7 separate regions of the Homo sapiens genome follow, and regions 2, 3, 4, 5, 6 and 7 are each linked to region 1. Evidence: promoter capture Hi-C in 16 types of primary human blood cells and fetal thymus (Javierre and others, 2016). All regions are on one chromosome and are shown on one strand. Each heading gives the region's core, a stretch centred on a gene start or on the middle of the fragment in contact. The rest is flanking DNA. Distances are from core to core; before and after follow the strand shown. Region 1 holds the start of EMILIN2 (elastin microfibril interfacer 2). Region 2 overlaps MYL12B (myosin light chain 12B). Region 3 overlaps MYL12A (myosin light chain 12A). Region 4 has its middle 7.6 kb from the start of MYOM1. Region 5 overlaps MYOM1 (myomesin 1). Region 6 overlaps MYOM1 (myomesin 1). Region 7 overlaps MYOM1 (myomesin 1).

Evidence for each region. Contacts are between HindIII fragments. The CHiCAGO score rates a contact against its expected background, and 5 or more counts as called.
Region 2: a fragment that was not itself captured here is called in contact with the fragment with the promoter of EMILIN2 in region 1 in 4 of 17 cell types (monocytes, M1 macrophages, M0 macrophages and 1 more); the score reaches 9.4 in monocytes.
Region 3: a fragment that was not itself captured here is called in contact with the fragment with the promoter of EMILIN2 in region 1 in 5 of 17 cell types (monocytes, M0 macrophages, M2 macrophages and 2 more); the score reaches 13.9 in monocytes.
Region 4: a fragment that was not itself captured here is called in contact with the fragment with the promoter of EMILIN2 in region 1 in 2 of 17 cell types (monocytes and activated CD4 T cells); the score reaches 5.7 in monocytes.
Region 5: a fragment that was not itself captured here is called in contact with the fragment with the promoter of EMILIN2 in region 1 in 8 of 17 cell types (total CD8 T cells, activated CD4 T cells, naive CD4 T cells and 5 more); the score reaches 6.7 in total CD8 T cells.
Region 6: a contact is called between a fragment that was not itself captured here and the fragment with the promoter of EMILIN2 in region 1, in 6 of 17 cell types (monocytes, activated CD4 T cells, non-activated CD4 T cells and 3 more). The highest score is 7.6, in monocytes.
Region 7: a fragment that was not itself captured here is called in contact with the fragment with the promoter of EMILIN2 in region 1 in 6 of 17 cell types (total CD8 T cells, total CD4 T cells, non-activated CD4 T cells and 3 more); the score reaches 7.2 in total CD8 T cells.

Annotation. Positions count from the first base shown.
Region 1 is chr18:2,845,551-2,848,634 of GRCh38, forward strand. EMILIN2 (elastin microfibril interfacer 2) reads left to right here and starts at 1,456. Exons shown (of 8, transcript NM_032048.3): 1 at 1,456-1,772; 2 at 2,259-2,381. The coding sequence starts at 1,639. RefSeq lists silencers at 1,674-1,723, 2,344-2,433. The HindIII fragment of the contact is 11,570 bases long and covers 412-3,084 here.
Region 2 is chr18:3,267,829-3,270,912 of GRCh38, forward strand. All of the region lies in intron 1 of MYL12B (myosin light chain 12B), which reads left to right. Among named protein-coding and RNA genes, the nearest start is that of MYL12-AS1, 7.0 kb to the left of the region's middle. The HindIII fragment of the contact is 4,015 bases long and covers 1-3,084 here.
Region 3 is chr18:3,250,132-3,253,215 of GRCh38, forward strand. All of the region lies in intron 1 of MYL12A (myosin light chain 12A), which reads left to right. Among named protein-coding and RNA genes, the nearest start is that of MYL12A, 3.9 kb to the left of the region's middle. The HindIII fragment of the contact is 1,026 bases long and covers 1,024-2,049 here.
Region 4 is chr18:3,225,983-3,229,066 of GRCh38, forward strand. It overlaps a transcript of MYOM1 not described here. Among named protein-coding and RNA genes, the nearest start is that of MYOM1, 7.6 kb to the left of the region's middle. The HindIII fragment of the contact is 8,579 bases long and covers 1-3,084 here.
Region 5 is chr18:3,199,548-3,202,631 of GRCh38, forward strand. The region is part of intron 2 of MYOM1 (myomesin 1); the gene reads right to left. Among named protein-coding and RNA genes, the nearest start is that of MYOM1, 19 kb to the right of the region's middle. The HindIII fragment of the contact is 762 bases long and covers 1,290-2,051 here.
Region 6 is chr18:3,180,844-3,183,927 of GRCh38, forward strand. All of the region lies in intron 5 of MYOM1 (myomesin 1), which reads right to left. Among named protein-coding and RNA genes, the nearest start is that of MYOM1, 38 kb to the right of the region's middle. The HindIII fragment of the contact is 3,663 bases long and covers 1-3,084 here.
Region 7 is chr18:3,145,590-3,148,673 of GRCh38, forward strand. The region is part of intron 13 of MYOM1 (myomesin 1); the gene reads right to left. Among named protein-coding and RNA genes, the nearest start is that of MYOM1, 73 kb to the right of the region's middle. The HindIII fragment of the contact is 2,195 bases long and covers 511-2,705 here.

The DNA.
Region 1 (3,084 bases), core at 206-2,705:
CAAATCAAAAGGTCCAACAACACCATCAAAGAATATTAGAAACAAAATAGACCAATGGCTTCATTTAGTAAAGTAGGAACATAGCAAACGTTTTTATTTTTTATTTTTTGCGACAGATTTTCACTCTTTTTGCCCAGGCTGGAGTGCAGTGGTGAGATCCCGGCTCACTGCAACCTCCATCTCTCTGGTTCAAGCGATTCTCCTGCCTCAGCCTCCCAAGTAGCTGGGATTACAGGCATGTGCCACCGTGCCCGGCAAATTTTTTTTTTTTTTTTGTACTTTTAGTAGAGACGGGGTTTCTCCATGTTGGTCAGGCTGGTCTTGAACTCCCGACGTCAGGTGATCCACCCGCCTCGACCTCCCAAAGTGCTGGGATTACAGGCGTGAGCCACCCCGCCTGGCCCATAGCAAAGCTTTATTCACTTAACGAGTCATGGCCAACAGCGTCTGGTTAGCTCACAGAGGCCACAGTTTTATCTGTGGAGTCTGGTAACCACGCCACTCACGACCCTGTACATTGATTAGATGCAGCAGGTCATCTCAAACACACAGCTCTCTCCAACACCCCTTAGAATACAACACTTGGGTGGTGATTTTACTTAACATTCTGGTACTTCATCCCAAAAAGACATCGGTAGAGATTAGTGTAACTCAACAACAGGCAGAAAACATACAAGAAAGTTTAAGACGGATGTCTAGCAGTGCCTGAACTGTTAAGAAGCAAACGTGAGTAAATGCCTTAGTTTCAATAGAAAAAGAAAGTTCACAGTGGGACCTCAGAAGCAGAGGCTGTGAGATCACCTTTCAAGAATTGGAGGAGAATTGCAGTAAGTGATAGAGCCGGACGCTGAGCTGCAGCAGCCTCTGGGAATTGGCGGGGCTGTGGCTTGTCCTGTCCTGCCGCCCCCCGCGTGGCCTCGGAAACTGTCAGATGGTGCCTAAGGCAGAGTTGGGCAAAGAAAGAACCAGCGTTCGTTTCCTCCTGGACTCTCTAGGTCCATGGAGCTGGTGGGGGAACGGCCCTGTCTTGCCCGAGGAGGAAATTCGAGTCGAGCCCCCACTCCTCTCCCCGCGGGACTGATAAACATGTCCCTCATTCGCCCCGGGAGGCTGGCACCCAGGCACGACGCGAGGACGGCCAGACTCGCCGACGGCGGCCGCGTCCCGGGGGGCCGGGAGCGAGCCTGTCGGAAGGTGGGAGGCGGAGTCGCTCGGCATCTGGGAAGAGACCAAAGGAATGAGTCATTGGAAATGCTGTAACGTAGACCCTTATCCCAAACCCTTTCGCCCCTCCACCCCGAGCCCCCTGCCGAGAAGCGAAGGGACTGGAGACGGGGAGACTTGGTGGGGGGAGAGTCACGTTTCGGAGAGGGAAGTGAAATAAAGAGGGCGGCACCCGGGGGGACCTGTGCGTCATTGAGGGACCGGGGAGAAGCGCAGGGCGCACGGGGCTGCAGAAGGAGAAGTAGGAACGAGAAGCCGGAGGGGGCGGCCGCGGAGCACTGGTTGGAGCGCCGCGAAGCGCCCGAGCCTCTTGCCTTCGCGGGCGGCGCCCTGGCCGCCGGCAGCCTTGTGGCCGGTGCCCCGATCCGCCGCGCTCCGGACCCGGGCAGGCGGGGCGCGCCCGCTGCGCGCGGGATGTGGCAGCCCAGACGGCCCTGGCCCCGCGTGCCCTGGCGCTGGGCGCTGGCGCTGCTGGCCCTGGTTGGCGCGGGGCTGTGCCACGCCGGCCCGCAGCCCGGGTATCCCGCGCGGCCCAGCGCCAGGAACAAGTAAGTGCGCGCCCCTTGGCTGGCCCCAAACCGCCTACCCCTCCCCGGCCCCCAGTTGAGCCCCAGAGCTGCCCTGCCAAAGACGACGAGCGGCAGCCGGGGGCCTCCCTTGGACTTCCCCGGGCGGCTCCCTCTGCGGGGGACCGCGCGCTCCGCAGCCGGCGCCTCAGGCAGAGCTGACTCCGGGGGCGTGGGCGCAGAGAGCGTCCCGCAGACCCGGGCGATCCGAAAACGACTCCCAGGAATTCCATGAGCCCCTGGGACCATGGGTGCTTTTCTTTCCCGTCTTGGTCGGGTCCAGGCGCGCGCTCTCCAGAGGCGCACCCGGGCACCCTCCGGCGTCTGCTCGGTGAAGCTCCCGCCTCCGCAGAGGGCGACGGGCCCCCCCGACCCTCGCTCGGTCTGGTGCCGCAGTCCCCTCTCCCCTGGCCTCATTGTTCTCCGGGTTTACCCCGTGCCCCTCTCCCTCTCTCTCCTGCACCCCAGGAACTGGTGCGCCTACATCGTGAACAAGAATGTGAGCTGCTCCGTGCTGGAGGGAAGTGAGAGTTTTATTCAGGCTCAGTACAACTGTGCCTGGAACCAGATGCCCTGTCCGTCGGCGCTGGTGTAAGTCCTGGAGCCGGGGAGCGGGCGGGGCGCGCCCGGGCCGGGGCGGTGGGGGTGGGGTGGGGTTGCTGCGCTGGGCTCCAGTCCCTCCGGTAAATCCCTTCCAGATCCGGTGAAAAGCCCGCAGCGGAAAAGCGCTCCGAGCGCTCGCGGGGCACCGGCCACGCTGGGCTATTTAGGGAGTGGGTGCTGCCCGAGTGAGTGGGGAGGATGCGCGCGCCTCGGGAGTGTGGGGTCGCGGGGGCGTAGGAGAGGATGAACAAAGCTCCCACTCCCACTTCTGTTTTCTCCCTTTCAATGTTTGTTTGTAACATAAGGCAGCTGAATCTAATTGGATCCATATTGTGTGTTCTGGGGCACACAGAAGATTCCAAAATGTATACTGCTAAAGACTATTCCGTATAGGATTCGCTGAGAGGTTTGGCTAAGTAGTGTTCTAAAACGAGTGAGTTCTGTCCGTATGTCCCCATAAAACGGAATCTTCCAGTTTTGTAGATGTCTAAGCTAAAACCTCAGGAACACTTTGCTTAAAAGTGTGGCTCCCCAGCATCCCTCCCCGCAACTTAGATTTGGAGATTCTCTAGAGATTGTGGGAGAGAATGGCCGTTAAAGACAGGGGGAAGAATTAATCATCTTTTTGCTTATAAAGATTTCCCCATCTTAAAAAAAAAAAAAAACAGGAAGCAATGCAATAAAGTACAAA
Region 2 (3,084 bases), core at 293-2,792, 420 kb after region 1:
GCAGATACTAGAATCTGCAGATGCTCAAGTCTCCCATATAAAATGGCATAGTATTTGCATATAACCTACACATATCCTCCTGAATACTTTAAATCATCTCTAGATTGCTTATAATACCTCATATAATGCAAATACTATATAAATAGTTGTTATAGTGTATTTTTTATTTGTATTTTTATTGTTGTATTTTTCCAAATAAATGAACAATTGATTCTCGGTTGAATCTGTGAGTGCGGAACCTGTGGATATGGAGGGCTAACTGTATGGGTTGGGTACTATCCCTGGTTTCAGGCATCCACTGGGGTCTTGGAATATATCCCCCTCAGATAAGGAGGGACTGCTGTATCAATTCCTACATGCCTGCCTTTGATGTAACCTCTGAGTACTACTTATATCCTGTAGTTCACTTTGTATTAGAAATTTATAGCAATATCAGAGTAACAGTGTTGCAGAGGAAGGAAGAAGTGTTTTTACTGCTATTGAGGGTTATTACATTCATTTTGTGCTGTGTTCTGTATGGCTATTTTCTGTCTGTAAGGGTTGGATTAGTTTTTTGTGTTTTTGTTTGTTGTTGTTTTTGAATGCTTCTTGGTTAAACATTAATAAATTGGACAGTCCTAGATCAAAGTTTCAAAGGAAAGCCATAACTGATAGTTGCCACCTGACTAAACCCAACCAGGGCTACTACACTGCACAGTTCCAGGGAGTGCCACTCACATTTCATTTACTCACTGCAACTCTATTCTGTACCTTGGTTTTTCTGGTGTAGATTGACTTGATTTGAAAACTCAGTTTGTCTAGGATTTGAATTTAGAGGATTGTAGGTGCTCAGAAATCAGTGTTGAATTATATTGGTGGCATTGCAAGTTTTAAAAAATTTTGTGCTGAACTCAAAATAATTAGAAGAGTATTTAGTAGGAAGTAGAAAATATACAAGGAGAAACAACCTGTAACAAATGGGATTTGAATCCTAGCTCTGCCACTAGGTGACCTTGGGCAAGATTATTTAATATCTTTGACCTTCAGTTTCTTCATTTGGCAGGTGGGCATGTTTCATTTAATGTACATAATGTTTCTAGCACATGAGTCACTTAATAAATGGTAGTAGCTGTAAGTTGAGTAGATCTTTAATTCTCTCTCTGTTCCTAAGGCAGAGAAGTAGATCAGGGCAACTGGGGCTGGAAAAATAGCAGGAACAAAGATATACAAGATAAGATGTGGCATGGTACCTTGGGGACATTTGCAGTTTGGTGTTGCTAAAGGAAAAGTACAAAGCAGGGAATGGCTAGAGAGGAGGCTGGAAAGGTCATTCTAGAGTAGGGAAAGGAAGACTCATGCACCATGTTTAGGAACTTGGTACTTTATCCTTTAGAAAGTGGAGAGCCAAAGAAGATTTTAAAAAGTGGAATGATGAGGTCATATTCATGTTTTAGACAGCCCTGCCTAGAAAACTAAGGGTAGTTTTGAGAGAGCCGAGAGGCAAGGGGATAGTGAAGAGGCCATAGAGATATTTTACACAAGAGATAATGAGGATCCAGTTTAGGGTGATGACAGAGGAATGAGGAAGATGAGCAACTCTGAGAAATATTTCTCAGAGGCAGGGCTTGGTTCATCAGGGAGAGGGATTGGGGAGGGTGACTCCTAGGTTTCTGGCTGCTGGGTAGATGATTGGAAACAAAGATGGTAAAGTTCAGGAGGGGAGAGATAATTGAGTTTTCAGCATGTTGATTATGAGTGTCTGTGGCATATCCAGATGGGTGCCTTTCACAGGCATTTGGATGTTTGAGTCCAAGGCTCCAAGGAAAGGTCAGGCCTGGAGGTTCGGATTTAGGAGGTGCAGGCATTGTCATAACAGTGAAAGTTGATGAGATCATCCAAGGAATGAAGACTGAAAAGAACTTTAAACCATGTGCTGCTAGAATACTGGGAAACATGAATATTTAAACGGAGATAAACATCTAAGAGGAAAATGGAGGAGGAAATCTTAGAAATAGGAGAACTGAGCTAGAGTAAGTCAAATACACCATTTTACATAATCAGTCTTTCCAATATAATGCTTAGCAGTCTTCCTGATTAGAGCGTAAGTTCTTCAAGGTTGGGACCCTTTCCACCTGGGAAAGTTCATTTCTACTGTTATGGAGCACCAGGCTAACAGTGGCTGTCTCTCCAAAGAAAAGAGGGATAAAATAGTGTGATGCAGTAGACTGATCCAAGAAGATTTAGACCAGATTTGGCAATTAAAGCAGTTGCAGTAGAGAACAGAAAGCCAGATTGTGGTGGGTTGAAAAGTGAGTGGGAAGTGAGAAGGTGGAGGAAGCCAAGATACTTATTTCAGAAGGGAAGGAGAGAGGGTGGTAATTTCTTTGGGGGCCAGAGTTCCCTTCAGATTGATTATTTTGATGCAACTTTGCCTCACTTTTCAGCTGATACTGTATGTGTAGTTTTTATAGGTACCATATACGTATACAAATGTACCACTGTTTTTAAATGAAGTATGAAAAAAATTTAAAATATAGTATTACTACATTGAGCCTATATCTGCTCTAACATATTTTGATTGGGACCAGTTAGTGAATTGTTTTTTGTTCTCTTCCATCAACTTGCCTTCTGTTTCCTTCTCTTGGGTGTCACCATCAGATGGTGATGGCTCTTCTAGTTATCAGGCTAACTAACTCCCTATTCTTTCTCACAGGCATTTCCCCTAATAAAATCCTTGGGTGTTTCATTCTGTCTTGGTATCAGCTTCTTAGAGAACTCGGACTAAACTTCAAAAATGTTTAAATATAGTATATTTTTGGGTTAACTGTAGAAGTAGCATGATACAATTGACTGATTCTGATTTGATTTGATTTGATTTTTTGAGACAGTGTCTCGTTTTGTCACCCAGGCTGAGGTTAGGGGCACCATTACGGTTCACCAGCCTCGACCTCCCAGGCTCAAATGATCCTTCCACCCCAGCCTCCCAAATAGTAGCTGGGACCACAGGCATGTGCCACCACACCTGGCTAATTTTTTAAATTTTTTGTAGGGACAGAGTATCACTTTGTTGCCCAGGCCTATCTCAAATTCCTGGGCTCAAGCAGT
Region 3 (3,084 bases), core at 287-2,786, 400 kb after region 1:
GTTAATGGGTGCAGCACACCAACATGGCACATGTATACATATGTAACCTGCACGTTGTGCACATGTACCCTAAAACTTAAAGTATAATAATAAAGCAATTTCAACTTTTTTAGATTAAGGGGTATACCCTAGTTTTCTAAACTTCGATGAGAGTTGTGCATTTGCTGAAGGCTTATTACATGAAGAGTGACAGTCTAAATTGTTTGAAGGAAAGTAAAATGAACAACAAACTAGAATCAGCAAAGAGGACCCTGACAATATCAGAAATGATCTGCTCCTTGAGATCATAGCACTGTTCCTGATTTGACTCCCTCCACCATTATTTATTCTCCCCACACTTTTAGTTTGGTAGGGAAAAAACCCCACAGTTTCTGTATTTTGGAACAGTGACTGTGCAGCCAAACTCCCTATCGCTGAAAGGTTTCTGGTGGAAAATAACTCATAGATCAGAATCCAGCCTCCTTGAAAAAGTAAAGGCCTAGGTAGTAACTTCCTCAACATTACACTGCCAGTTTTTGATAGAATTAACTACCTTAATTTGTTAGAATTGAGACTAACAGCCGAATCTCTTCATTCTAACAATGCTTTGTAGCTTCTAAATGATCCCACACGGGGTTTTTCAAGGTCTTCCTCCTCCCCAATCCCTTAATTACTCAGAAACATCTTTTCTGAACTCACAGCATTTGATAATTATGTACCATGTTAGGAATTATTTTTCATTATTGTCACACGTTTTAAGTTTAGAGTCATACTTCTGGAATGAAAACTATGACTCATTTCATAAGTTGAACCAATCATCTCATTTCTTTATAGTTGCCTCCCCAACTATATTAAGCTCCTTGAAGATAGGACACATGCCTTACATTTCTTAACTCTTAGCTAGTATTCAACATAATTAATATGACGTTTGATACATATTAGTTTAATTAACTTCATAATAAAATTGATAAGATTAAGTATTGAATGTGCTGAAGAAGAGCTCTATATGAGGCCATTGTCAGTGCTGACCCAAAAAAAAAAAAAAGCTTTTTTACTTTAAAAATCTATTTTATAATACATTTACAATTCAAAAAAGTGCGTGATTAAAAGAATAGGAAATATATCAGAATTCAGAAAACATACTACTTTACAACCAAAACTAAGCATTTTGAAAATGTATCTAGAGGACCCTCGTAAATTTAGTTATATGAGATTTTATATAATAGATTAAAAAATCAGATGTGTCAGCCGTTTGACCTCATCAGTTTCTTTGTTCTTAAAATAGCTGACATTTCTGCATCATTAGGGAAAGACAATGTTGTCACACAAAACAGACTATTTTTAAAGATGTGCTTTGGCTTGCAAAGGCGTGACATGCCTAAAATATTAAAGCGATATGGACTGGTAAACGTGTCACTCATTGGGTTTCAACCTCTTGCTCCAAGTCCTTGCGTACATTTAAGAATTGGAGGAATAATATATTCTATATCTCTTTGTATTTTTTAAAGACAGCATTTATAACAGACGAGGAAAGTACATCCTCATGTAGTTTAGATGTGAATGGGATTTACTACCCCCAAAGGTGTTATAGAATGAAAATATGCATTTATGAATAGTTTTAAGTCATGAAAGGCAGCATCCTAAAAGTTGATTAAAGAATTCTAGGAAATTTGGGAACAGCATATATATCATAACTTCTGTGCTATGTAGGATATATCTTTTCAACAATATATTCCAGTTGCCATACGGTGCTGTATTGGATGGGCTGGAATTTGTGACTATCCTTTGTGGAATTTCCTATTAAAATCTGAAAACAGATTTAGCTTTAAAAAATTTGAGGCAGAGCTTTTCTAATCATTCCATAATTGTATTTAGTCTGGACGATATGGTTATAATCAAGGAAAGAATGTAAGAAATTACTTTTTAAACACATCGGAAACACATTCTTAGGGTCACTTTGGAGTGCTGAGATCTAGGTGGTAGTTCATTCTTTGCAGTCCACAGACTTATTTTTAGACCAATGGCATAGTGTTTTGCCAGATCATAGCTAAATGTTGTTTTCAGAACGTAAGCTTTAAAATTGTTATCCTGGTCAGAGTGAAATCAGTAGTGCCTATTTTAGACCTGCTTGGAAGAATATAACTCAATGCAGTGTCTTACTTTTGCTGCTGAGCGGTTTTGCAGACTACCATCTTCCCTGCAACTCTGAAGGATGGTATGGTAGAATTTTATTGTCTGATGACTGAGATTTTTAACTTGAAACAAATTTTTGTAGTTTTTAACAGATTGAGTATTGAAAATTGCCTTTTTATTTTAGGTATTATTAGACATTCTTTTTAATTTTAACTTAAATTTTACCGGGATAAATTTAGGTAAGAGAGCAAAGGTAGTTTCTACGTTTAAGATGTTTTCTAAAACTTTTAAAATTATTTTAAAAGCTTGTGCTCTGATTTCTGTTTAGAGATCTTAGATACTTCCAGTGATTTAGTGTGACTGTAATGCAAGAAACTGGTTTGGATAGAGTGCAATGTCTATAAAAACTATAGATGAATTCCCTTCAGTTTTTTTATACTTTACTATTAGCCTTTCAACAAATAGTTTTTTTGAACTACTTTTGCCTAGTGGTGAGGGTACAATAAAAAATGTTAGTTGAAAGTGAAAGCTTTAACAATATTTGTCAATAGAGATTAGGAGATGAAGACCTGTTCCATCAGTTAGTCATTCTTACTATTCTTCACCTTTCTGTCCACCGTACTATGGAATAGCCAGTTTAGGCTAAGGCTGCAAAGCAGGGACCTACTGAAGATGAATTAGTATCCCTCAGCACCCCTATACTGCTGAAGTATAGAACTTGGGAGTTTCCTAAGTACCTAATTTTTTTTGCTTCTTGGTTTTTTATTGTTATCAAATCAGCAGATTTGGTTATCAGCTGTTGTTAGTTATATAGCAGTACAGGACATATGTAATCTTGTTGAGATGTGTCTTCTAAAGACACATTTCTGAGTAGCTCAAACATATCAGGAAAGTTGGTTCTGTGTACTTTTGTTAATCATTGTTTTGATTCAAACTTAAGTAATCTTAGATGTTGATTTGGTTTTTATTGTA
Region 4 (3,084 bases), core at 434-2,933, 380 kb after region 1:
AATATGACACAATTTCAAAATCTTGCACTTCGAGAAGAGAGATGGCCCCATCAGTATTTTCACATAATGGCATTCGCAACTAGAACTAGAACCAAACTACTGGAGAATCAAAATTCCATTTCATGAATCTGTTCATTTGTAACCCTAATGCATACATTATGTGGCATTTGCTGAAGACCTAAGGAACATTGTGTTCCATTCATTCGTCAGCATGAGTGGTGCACGGGTTGGAGAGTAGAAGTGCTGCAGTAAGCCAGGCACTGGGATTGAGGACAGAATGTGAGCTGACGCTATGACAAAGGGAGAATGCATTCAGACAGAGCTCACTATGTCCTCTTCTGCTTCAAACCTTCCAATGGCTCCTCACTGCCTATTCTTCCCCAGGTGGCCTCCTCAGCATGGCACGAGGGCATCTTCACCCTATGAGCCTCCATAATTCTCCAGCTCCGCCCCTCTCCATTCCCCTGCCTGCCTCCTGAGTTTCAACCACGGGTAATTCCTTGCAAGCCCTCAAACTCCAGGACTCCAGCACCCCGGTTCCCTCACACCTGGTGCTCCTCTCAGCCCTGCCAACACGCGCACACTTCCTCACTTCCTTCACCCCGCTCCTTCAACACCCCGTGCCATCTCCTTCCGGGAGACTTCCCTACTTCCACTAGGATGGGAAGTTTTTCGTGTGGTATTTACGTGTTTACTTTTCTGTCTCTGCACAATGAGTACTCACTGGTAGGAGCGGGATCTCTATGGCTAGGTGCTCCCAGTACCCAGCAAAGCTCCTGACCCACAACAGGCATTTAATAAAGAATTACTGAATGAGGAAAACTGGGAAATGTGGCAAAGGACAACTCCTCAGGACATAGGGACTCCTTAGAGATGGGAAAAAACAAGGGCTAGGAGTCAGTGTGGCCAGGGATCAGCTGTTCAGCTGCGGGGAGGACAACTGCTGTGAGCCCCTCTTAACCTGCGTGTGAGGCTCAGGAGCTGGTGGGTAGATTCTGGGAGAGGGACAAGCCCCTAAGCCAGAAAGCTGCCTGCACGCATAGTCCAGGCCAGGGAACTGGAGGTGAGTATTAGAAAGCAAGACCCCAAAGCCCATTTTCTAACATTTTTTGTCTCTACCTGTTTTTCTGTCTATTCATAAATAGATATCTGGTATGATAATGACTTCCAAATGATGAGATGCTTTCTCTTTCTTTTGTTTTTTTTTAACTTTCTTGTTTGTATTTTTTTTACTTGATTTTAAGATATAATTAGCATCAAGAACTGTGAAGGTATATACATACAATGGAATATTATTCAGCCTTAAAAAGGAGTGAAATCCTGACACACACTACAACATGGATGAACCCTGAAGACATTATGCAAAGTGAAATAAGCCAGTCACACAAGGACAAATAGTGTATGATTCCACTTATATGAGGTACCTAGAGTAGTCGAGTTTATAGAGAAAGCAGAACAGTGGTTGCCAGGGGCTGGGGAAAGGGGGTAATGAGGAGTATAGCTTAATGGGTAGAGTTTCAACATGGGATGATTAAAAAGCTCTAGAGCAATGTGAGCCGGGCGCGGTGGCTCACACCTGTAATCCCAACACTTTGGGAGACCGAGGTGGGCGAGTCACAAGGTCAGGAGTTTGAGACCAGCCTGGCCAACATGGTGAAACCCTGCTTTTACTAAAAATACAAAAAAATTAGCTGGGTATGGTGGCAGGCACCTGTAATCCCAGCTACTTGGGAGGCTGAGGCAGGAGAATCGCTTGAACCCAGCAGGCGGAGGTTGCAGTGAGCCATCGAGCCACTGCACTCTAGGCCAGGGGGCCGTACGAGACTCCATCTCAAAAAAAAATTAATTAATTTTTAAAAAGCTGTAGAGATGTGTAATGGCGATAGTTATACAACAGTGTAAATGTACTTACTGCCACTGAACTGTATCCCTAAAATGGCTAAAATGGTAAATTTAATGTTGTGTATATTTTACCACAATTTTTTAAAAAAAGGAACGCAGGAGTCAGAGATTTTACCCTACTTGCAAACTAAAAAGTGATCCTGCTACAGTTTCATGAGTGTTGACAGAAGACACAAGAAGACAAAGAGCTTTACTCCTGACAGCAAGAGCAGTGGCCAAGTGTCAGCATATTCTTCACTGGTTTGCCAGCCCCCAATCCCCATGTTCCCAAAGGACAACGTGATGAAGACCAGGTGACACCTGCAGTCACAGTGGGCTGCATTACAGAAGAAGAATCTTGACTTTAGAGCACCTGAATATTTCATCATGAGCATTCAGCATACCTGCCCTTTGCTTCAGAGGGAGATATTCTTGTTACACTGGATAGTAAGCGTGTCTGCCTTTTGCTGTGGCTGGAGACACTTACTCTGTCTTCAAAGGCTGTTCACTATATGAACAGTCCTGCAGAAACAGGCTGGAACAACGGAGAGCCAGATCTTCGCTTGCAACATGTGCCGAAACACAAGAAGCCCGCGGAGAACTGTCTCCCGACAATGACTGTGTGTTACTTTTACAAAAATCATATGGTTTTTTTTTTCCTTTAAAAGTAAGAACCAGAATAAAGATCAGCAGATCTGAGTTTTCAGTTTCAATTCATTTCGAATTTCCTTTTAACAGTTTATAGCAATAAAATTGACACACCATAAATTAATCCATTTTAAGAGTAAAGTTCAGGGAGTTTTAGTCAATTTTTACATTGTGCAACCATCACCAAAATCCAGTTTTAAAACACTTCCATCACCCAGAAAAGTTTCCTCAGGCTTGTCTGCAGTTAATCCTGGGTCCCGCGCGTGACCGAGGCCACCACTGACCTCTGTCTCTACAGTTCAGCTTTTTCTAGAAATTTCACACAAATGGAATCCTACCATATGTAGTCATTTGTGTCTGGTTTCTTTCACTTGGCAAGATGTTTTTGAGTTTCATCTGGATACTGGATGCACCAGTATTGCACTTGGTTCTCACCAATGTCCTACCCTGTCCGCAGTTGTCCTTTCAATAACAATGAATGAATGTGTTGTATTGCTCTGCTATAATTTGTTACCTGGTCTCTAAGTGTTGAGCACCTGGAAATTTCCAGTCATT
Region 5 (3,084 bases), core at 421-2,920, 350 kb after region 1:
TACCTGCACACCGGCTGGGCACGGTGGCTCACACCTGTAATCCCAGCACTTTGGGAGGCCAAGGTGGGTGGATCACGAGGTCAAGAAATCAAGACCATCCTGGTCAACATGGTGAAACCCTGTCTCTACTAAAAATACAAAAATTAGCTAGGCATGGTGGCACATGCCTATAGTCCCAGCTACTCTAGAGGCTGAGGCAGGAGAATCACTTGAACCCGGGAGGTGGAGGTTGCAGCGAGCTGAGATCGTGCCACTGCACTCCAGCCTGGGTGACAGAGTGAGACTCCGTCTCAAAAAAAAAAAAATTACCTGCACACTTTAGCTGTGCTCCCTAACACACACTCAGATCTACTGCCAGAGGGTGGAAGATTTACTGTCTTGAGCTGTTTGGGCACAATGTCTGACCACCATTAATCTATGCAAACACAGTGTGATTCCTAGGAATTCCGGCTTAAAAATGAGAACAAGAATTTAAAAAACAAAACAAAGCTGAGCAGAGACACCTGCAGCCACACAGCAGTTAAGGAGATTCTACAAGCATGTCCAGCCAAATTATTATTAAACAAAACTGAGATCACACCACTGCACTCCAGACTGGGCAACAGAGTGAGACTCCAGCTGAAAACAAAAACAAAAACAAAAACAAAAAAACCCAAAAAACAAAAAACAAAACCAAAATACAGCAACAACACACTCTGAGGAAAATTCAGAATTCAGAATTGTAACAATATATTATCTGACATGTCCCATTTTTAACAACAATAAAAGTTATGAGACATGCCAAGAAATAGGAAAATGTAACCCACACCAATGGGAAAATAGTAGTAAGCAAAAATTGTCTCTGGGTTGTCCTTGATGTTGGGTTTAGCAGACAAAGACTTCAAAGCAGCAATTATAAATATGTTCAAAAACTGAAGGAAACCATGTTTAAAGAGTTAAAGGAATGTATTACAACAGTGACTCAACAAATAGAGAATGTCAACAAAGAAATATAAATTATAAAATAAAATCAAAGGACACTCTGGAGTTAAAAAGTACGATAACAAATGAAAATTTCTTAGAGGGACTCAACAGCAGATGTTAGATAAGGGAAGAAATAATCAATAAAGTTGAAAATAGAAATTACCCATTCTAAAGCAAAGAGAGATAAAAGAATAAAGAAAAATTAAAAGAGCCTCAGAAACGTGTGAGACAATGTCAAACATACTAACATATGAGTAATGGCAGTGCCAGAAAGGGAAGAGAGAGAGAAAGGGCAGGAAAATATATTTGAAGAAATAATAGACTAAAGCTTCCAAAATTTGATGAAAATATTAATCTATGGATCCAAGATGCTCAAAAAACCCAAGTAGAATAACACAGAAAAAGATACTTAGACCTGGAAATATCGAAGTCAAACTGTTGAAAGTCAAAGCCAGAGAGAAACCTTGAAAGCATCAAGAGTAAAATGATTCTTTACACACAGGGGAACAATAATACTGTTAATGGTAGACTTCTCATCAGGAAAAATGGCACCGACATGACATATTTAAGTGCTGAAAAACAATGTTAATCAAGAATTCTATATCTGGCCGGGCGCAGTGGCTCATGCCTGTAATCCTAGCACTTTGGGAGGCTGAAGGGGGTGCATCACTTGAGGTCAGGAGTTTGAGACCAGCCTGTCCAACATGGTGGAACCCTGCCTCTACTAAAAATACAAAAATTAGCCGGGCATGGTGGTGCACTCCTGTAATCCCAGCTACTCAGGAGGCTGAGGCAGGAGAATTGCTTGAACCTGGGAGGCAGAGCTTGCAGTGAGCCAAGATCGTGCCACACTGCACTCCAGCCCTGGCGACAGAGTGAGACTCCGTCTCAAAAAAAAAAAGAAAAAAAGACTAAAGGTAATTTAATTGTAATTTAAACCCACACGAAAAGATGGAGAACAACCAGACAGTAAATAATTGGGTAAATACAAAAGACAGTGTGTGTACATACACACATACACACATGTACATGCACATATATGTATATAAGTTTATACACACATATGTATATAAATTTATACGTATATAAGCTTATACACATATATGTATGTAAATTTTTACATATATATTCTATTAAATTCTTTTTTTTTTTTTTGAGACAGAGTCTTGCTCTGTCACCCAGGCTGGAGTGCAATGGCGTGGTCATAACTATAACCTCGATCTCCCGGGCTCAAGCCATCCTCCCACCTCAGCCTCTCAAGTAGTTGGGACTACAGGCACACATCACCATGCCCAGCTAATTTCTGTATTTTTTGTAGAACTGGGATTTCACCATGCTGCCCAGGCTGGTCTCAAACTCTTGAGCTCAAGTGAGTCACCCACCTCGGCCTCTGAAAGTGCTGGAATTGCACATGTAAGCCACTGCACCCAGGCTTCTCTTAAATTCTTTAAAAGATATAATATTGTATAAAATACTTATTGCATTGTGTTGTTGGGTTTACAACATTCATAGTTGTAATATACTTGACAACAGTGCAAAGGAGGGAGAAGGAAATGAAGCTATATTAGAGGAAAGTTTCTATGTTTACTGGTATTCAGTGAGTATATATTATCTGAAGTAGATAGAAATAAGTTAATATGTATATTGTAATTCCTAAGGCAATCCCTAGGAAAATAGCTCAAAGAATATAGTCAAGAAACAAAAGAATTAAAACAATACACTAAAAAGGTCCATTTAATACAAAATAAGGCAATAAAGGAGTAATTAAAGAGATAATGAGATATACTTTAAAAAGTGGCAGACATAAATACAACCATATCAGTAATTTTAGCAAACGTAAATGGAATAAAAAACTCCAAGGAACAGGCAGAGGCTGTCAGACTGAATGGAAAAATACAGATTCAACTAATCCACTTATATGCTGCCACAAGAGGCACACCCTAAATTTAAAGACACATTTGTTAGTAAAAGGATAAAAAATATATACCATGCAAATGGTAAGCTATAGTAATATAAAACATAATATACTTTACATCAAGAAATATTATTAGAGACAAAGAGGAATATTTCATATGATAAAATGGTCAATTTCTAAGAAAAGCATAATTGTAAATGTATATA
Region 6 (3,084 bases), core at 374-2,873, 340 kb after region 1:
CTTTGGCAGTGTAAAGCATGATCAAGCAAAAGACTTCACAAAAATTATTTTCTACCCACAAATAATGCACACCGAGATGATCTTTTTTTTTTTTTTTGAGACGGAGTCTTACTTACTCTGTCACCCAGGCTGAAGAGCAGTGGCACGATCTGTGCTCACTGCAACCTCCGCCTTCCGGGTTCAAGTGGTTCCCCTGCCTCAGCCTCCCAAGTAGCTGGGACTATAGGAGCGTGCCACCACGTCCAGCTACTTTTTGTATTTTTAGTAGACATGGGCTTTCACCATGTTGGCCAGGCTGGTCTCAAACTCCTGACCTCAGGTGATCTGCCTGCTTCGGCCCCCAAAGTGCTGGGATTACAGGCATGAACCACCACGCCCGGCCAAAGATGATCTTTAATATACTGAATCTCACCACAAATGAGATTGCTGCTTATAATCCAACCTGTTTTGAGTAAATCACTCTAGACCCACTTTAAAAACTATCTGAGAGAGATTGAGAGAGAGAGAGAGATCCCATTGGGATAGATTTTGGAATTAAGTAAATAAGAAAAATCCAAAGTAAAACTCCAAATCCTTATGTTGGAAAACTGTTGTAAATTGTAAATAATTTGTGTTAACCATTTTAAATATAAGCTGTTTTTTCTATGATAATATGGTAGTAACTGCTAAATTTGAATATGTGATTAATAATTCTAATCTTGAAAATAAACTCAATGCATGATTCTATTATGAAATTTACAAACCCTCATAATTTGTGAGAATAGAAGAGTTTTCTGAATCTCTGCCTTTGTAACTATTTTATTCCTAGGTTTTGAATTATTATAATGGGCTTAATGACACATTTCTTTAAGTATCTATTTGACAACGACCTTTGGGTGAAACTGAATAATTTTTTTTTTTTTTTTTTTTGAGACAGGGTCTTGCTCTGTCCCCCAGGCTGTAGCGCAGTGGTGCGATCTCACTCACTGCAACTTCCACCTCCCAGATTCAAGCAATTCTCCTGCCTCAGCCTCCTGTGTAGCTGGTACTACAGGTTCCTGCCACCACACCCGGCTAATTTTTGTACTTTTAGTACAGATGGAGTTTCACCATGTTGGCCAGGCTGGTCTCGAACTCTGGACCTCAGGTAATCCGCCCGACTCGGCCTCCTAAAGAGCTGGGATTACAGGCGTGAGCCCTCGCGCCTGGCTGAAACTGAAGAATTTTAAACATGTATTATAAATGCTTTGCTTGAGGATCTAGTCCAGTGTCCAACATATAGATATGAAAACATGAGTGCCGAGTGAGTGAATGACAGGTACACACTGATACCAACACATTGCTCCAATGAGTTTTCCTGATCTTCCTGCAGGCTACAATCAAGATTTCCATGGACAAATTCAATCTAGGCTTCAGGCCAGAAACCCAAATGAATCCTGCTCTTTAAAAAGTATGCCTGTCATGAGGTGAGGGGAGGGGGAGGGATAGCATTGGGAGATATACCTAATGTAAATGACGAGTTGATGGGTGCAGTACACCAACATGGCACATGTATACATATGTAACAAACCTGCACGTTGTGCACATGTACCCTAGAACTTAAAGTATTATAATAATAATAAAAAGTATACAATTAACACTATTCTCTCCTTTTAAAGAAAACTTTTTCCTTCTCCACTATTTCACATAATGTTTAAAATCTGACTAGGTAATACGTTTACATGGTTCAAGAACCAGAAAGAACTAAGGGTGCACAGTGAACCCTTCCTGGTAACTTCCTAGAACTTTTGTCCCTTTGACAAGGCTCCCCCTCAGGGTCAATAGCTTTTCTTGGGTTCTTCCATATCCTTCCAGAATTTCATTATGCAAATAAAACAAAAACAAACATAAATGCTTTTTTCTTCCCCCTTTAAACAGAAAGACTCTTATTATACAAGTTATTACATAAATGTACCCTATTAAATTTTAAAACTTTAATTTTTTTCACTACATATGTATTTTCCCTTCTATGTCGACAGAGTCCTCCTGCAGGATGGCCAGCTTCACGGTAGGGGTGCAGCAGCATCCTCTGCAACTAACTTTTCTTTCTTCTTTTTTTTTTTTTTTTTTTTTTTTTTTTTGAGACAGAGTTTCGCTCTTGTTGCCCAGGCTGCCTGGAGTGCAGTGGCGTGATCTCAGCTCACCGCAACCTCCGCCTTCCGCGTTCCATCGATTCTCCTGCCTCAGCCTCCCCAGTAGCTGGGATTACAGGCATGCTCCACCACACCCGGCTAATTTTGTATTTTTAGTAGAGACAGGGTCTCTCCATGTTGGTTAGGCTGGTCTCGGACTCCCGACCTCAGGTCATCCGCCCGACTCGGCCTCCCAAAGTGCTGGGATTACAGGCGTGGGCCACCACGCCCGGCCTGTAACTAACTTTTCTACCGAGGCCAGTGCTTAGACAGGCTCCCTGCTGCTGTCAGAGCGAGTTGGGAATAGGACGGTACTGCATCCTGTCTCTGCACCTGACTTTAATGAGGGATGTGTGTGCCCTTATTCAGTGCTCTCTGGTAACCTCTAGGTTCCACATGAATAGATTTGGTTAGTAATGTGGGATTGGTTGGAGAGCGGCTGCTGAGTGCTTGTATCATTTGTTAGGCCTCAGGAACTCCCATGAGTGAAGGTGTCCAGTGGAAACTGGTTGGTTGGTGTCCAGCCAAACCCTCTTTGGAAAGGGCTCTGCCGGAGACAGGCCCGCCACACGTGCCTTTGAAAGATGTGGCTAAGGACATAACTGCTATGAGTGGAGGCAGTGTGATTATATGAAGCATCATCACAAATTTACTCCTTTAATAAACCTGCTGATATTCAGGAAGGGCATTCTCAATATTCCCTTTGTACTTCTCCTCAGTGTCAGGCCCAGGAAGCTGCAATTGGATACCAAAAAGGTATAAATGCCAGCAATGTTATCACCAACAATCTTGGTTGTTGCTTGGGCTGCGGGTTCCCAGGTCTTCAAGGGAAAGGCTGCTTATTGAAGATTTCATGCTCTGTACCAGTGGTGCAAAGTCAATTAGCACTCCAGTGAATCATTTTTCGTTCTCTCTCTTTTTTTTTTTTTTGAGA
Region 7 (3,084 bases), core at 358-2,857, 300 kb after region 1:
TGAAAACACAACAGATCAAAATGTGTGAAATACAGCTAAAGGAGTACTTAGAAAAAAATATTTAGCACTAAATGCATGCGTTATAAAAGAATACTTCAAATTAAGGACCTCAGCTTCTACCTTAAGAAACAAGAAAAAAACCCAGCAAATTAAACTCAAATAAGCAGAAAAAAGGAAATAATAAAGATAAGAACAGAAATAAATAAAACTGGAAACAGAAGAAAAATATAGAAAATCAATGAAACCAAAAGCTGTTTCTTTGGGAACATCAATAAAGTTGATAAACTTCTAGTCAGGTCAGGACAAAGGAAGTAAAACACGAATATTAGGAATGAGAGAGGTGACACCACTACAGATTCTGCAGGTATTAAAAGGATAATAAGAAAATATGAACAACTTTATGAATGAAAAAGTTTCTTGAAAGATGAAAACTATTAAATTTTACTCAAGAAAAAGTAAATAACCTGAATAGTCCTAAATTTATTTTAAAAATTGAATTTGCAGTATAAAAGCTTCCCACAACAAAACAAAACAAACAAACCAAAAAACAAACCTCCAGGCCTAGATGGCTCTGCTGGTAAATTATACTGAATGTTTAATTAAAAAAAATAATAAAAGTTAACACAAGCTCTTTCAAAAAATTAAAATAATGGTAATACTTTCCACTCAGTACCCCAATACCAAAACCAAACCAAGACTTTACTGGGAAAAACCACAGACCAATATCTTTTATGAATATAGACACAAAAATTCCTTTAAAAATTTTTAGCAAATAAACTCCAGCAATGTATAAAAAGGATAACACAGCATAACATAGTGACATTCAACCCAGGACTGTGAGGTTTAGTTTGCGTTATTTATTTTATTTCGGTTTAATAATCTAAAATTAATCAATGTAATTCAACATGTTAATGGAAAAATAAAAATCATACGATCGTCTCAATAGATACAGGAAAAGCATTTGACAAAATCCAACACTTTTTCCTAATATAAACTCTCAGAAAACCAGGAGTAGAAGAAATTTTCCTCAACTTGATAAAGGATAGCTATACAAAACCTACACTTAATGTTAGACTTAATGGTGAAAGACTGAATGCTTTCCCCCTGACATCAGGAAAAGGCAAAGATGACCAGTCTACCACTTCTATTCAACATTGTACTAAAGGTTCTAGATGGAGCAATAAGGAAAGAAAAAGAAATAAAAGGTATCCAGATTGAAAAGGAAGAAGTTAATTTATCTTTACTTATAGATGGCATAATCCTGTAATAGAAAATCCATAATAAATTTCATAAAAAACCCTAATGTTTGTGAGAATTAATAAATTAGTTCAGCAAGGATGCAGGACACAAAATCAATATACAAAAATCAATTGTGTTTCTTTATACTAGCATAAAAACAAATTAAAATAAAAAACAATACCATTTACAGCATCATCAGAAATATTATATATAAATATTATATATTATATATAAATATATATCTTATATATAAATATTATACATTATAGATAAATATATATATTTATATATAAATATTATATATTATAGATAAATATATATATTATATAGAAATATATATATATAAAAAGTCAGATACTCTAACTTTTTGTCAGAGTTTGTGCAAAAACAGAAAGGCAGTAAAGAAGGTAACTTATTTTCAATTCAAACAAATCTTATTTTGATTGGAATTGATAAAAGAGGAGCAAACGAATGTATGAGATTATATCTATAAAAATGTGCAGGACCTGCTCACTAAAACTACTACTAAGGTGAGAGAAATGAAAACAAAGCTAAATGAATGGAGATACAGGCTATGTTCATAAATCAAAGGACTCAATGCTGTTCGGCTGAAATCCCAGCATGTTTTTTGTAGAAGTTGATAAGCTGATTTTAAAATTTTTATAGAAATGTAAAGACAGAATAGCTGAAACAACTTTGGGGGGGAAAAACCCAACACAAGATTAGAAGACTTATACTGATTTGAAGATGCTAAAATTTATATATGAAAAAATGAAGCTCAGAAAAGCTATAGTAATAAAGACAGTATGGTATTGATGGAAGGGGAAAAAAATTGACCAATAGAGATTCCAGAAATTGATCCACACATATGTAATCAATTGAATTTGACAATGGTGCCAATACAAATTCGTTGGGTAAAGAACAATCTTTTCAATAGATATTGCTGAAATAATTTAATAGCCATATGCAAGTATGAACGATAGTAATAATTGAGGCCCTTACTTCTTGTAATGTAGAAAAAATTAATTTTAAATGCATCACAGAGTGAAAAGTAAAAACTAATGCTATAACATTTCCAGGGGGAAAAAAACAGGAAAAATACCTGGATTTGACAAAGATGCCCAATGTCACAAAAACTGGCAAATAAACACATGAAAAGATGCTCGACATTATGAGTAAAATGCAAATCAAAGCCACAAAGAAATACCACTATGAACCCACTAGAATGGCTAAAATTGAAAAGACTGGCCACACTAAGTGCTAGTGACAATGCGGGAGCAAGTGGAACTCTCACGTAGGGCTGGAGGGGAAGGGAACGTGGTACAATCATTTCAGAAAACAGCTGGCAGTTCCTTTAAAAATTAAGCATACACCTACCACAGAACACATCCATTCAACTCCTAGGTATTTACACAAGACATAAATGAAAGCATATGTCCACAGAAACAGTTAAGAATGTTCATAGAAGCTTTCAACAGTGAATGGATAAATACTTTGGAACGAATTGATACACACACCAACGTAGATAAGTCTCAAAATAATTATGCTGAGTAAAGAAAAACAGACAAAAATGAACATGATTCAACTGATCTACAATTGTGGACAATGTAAACTACAGTGGCAGAAAGCAGATCAGTGATGGCTGGAGATGGGGAAACATGAAAAGGAGGAATTACGAATGGGCAGGGGAAATTTAGGGGTGACAAATACGTTCATTATTTTGAAAATGGTGATGGTGGCCGGGCGCGGTGGCTCACGTCTGTCATCCCAGCACTTTGGGAGGCCGAGACGGGCGGATCACGAGGTCAGGAGATCGAGACCATCCTGGCTAACACGGTGAAATCC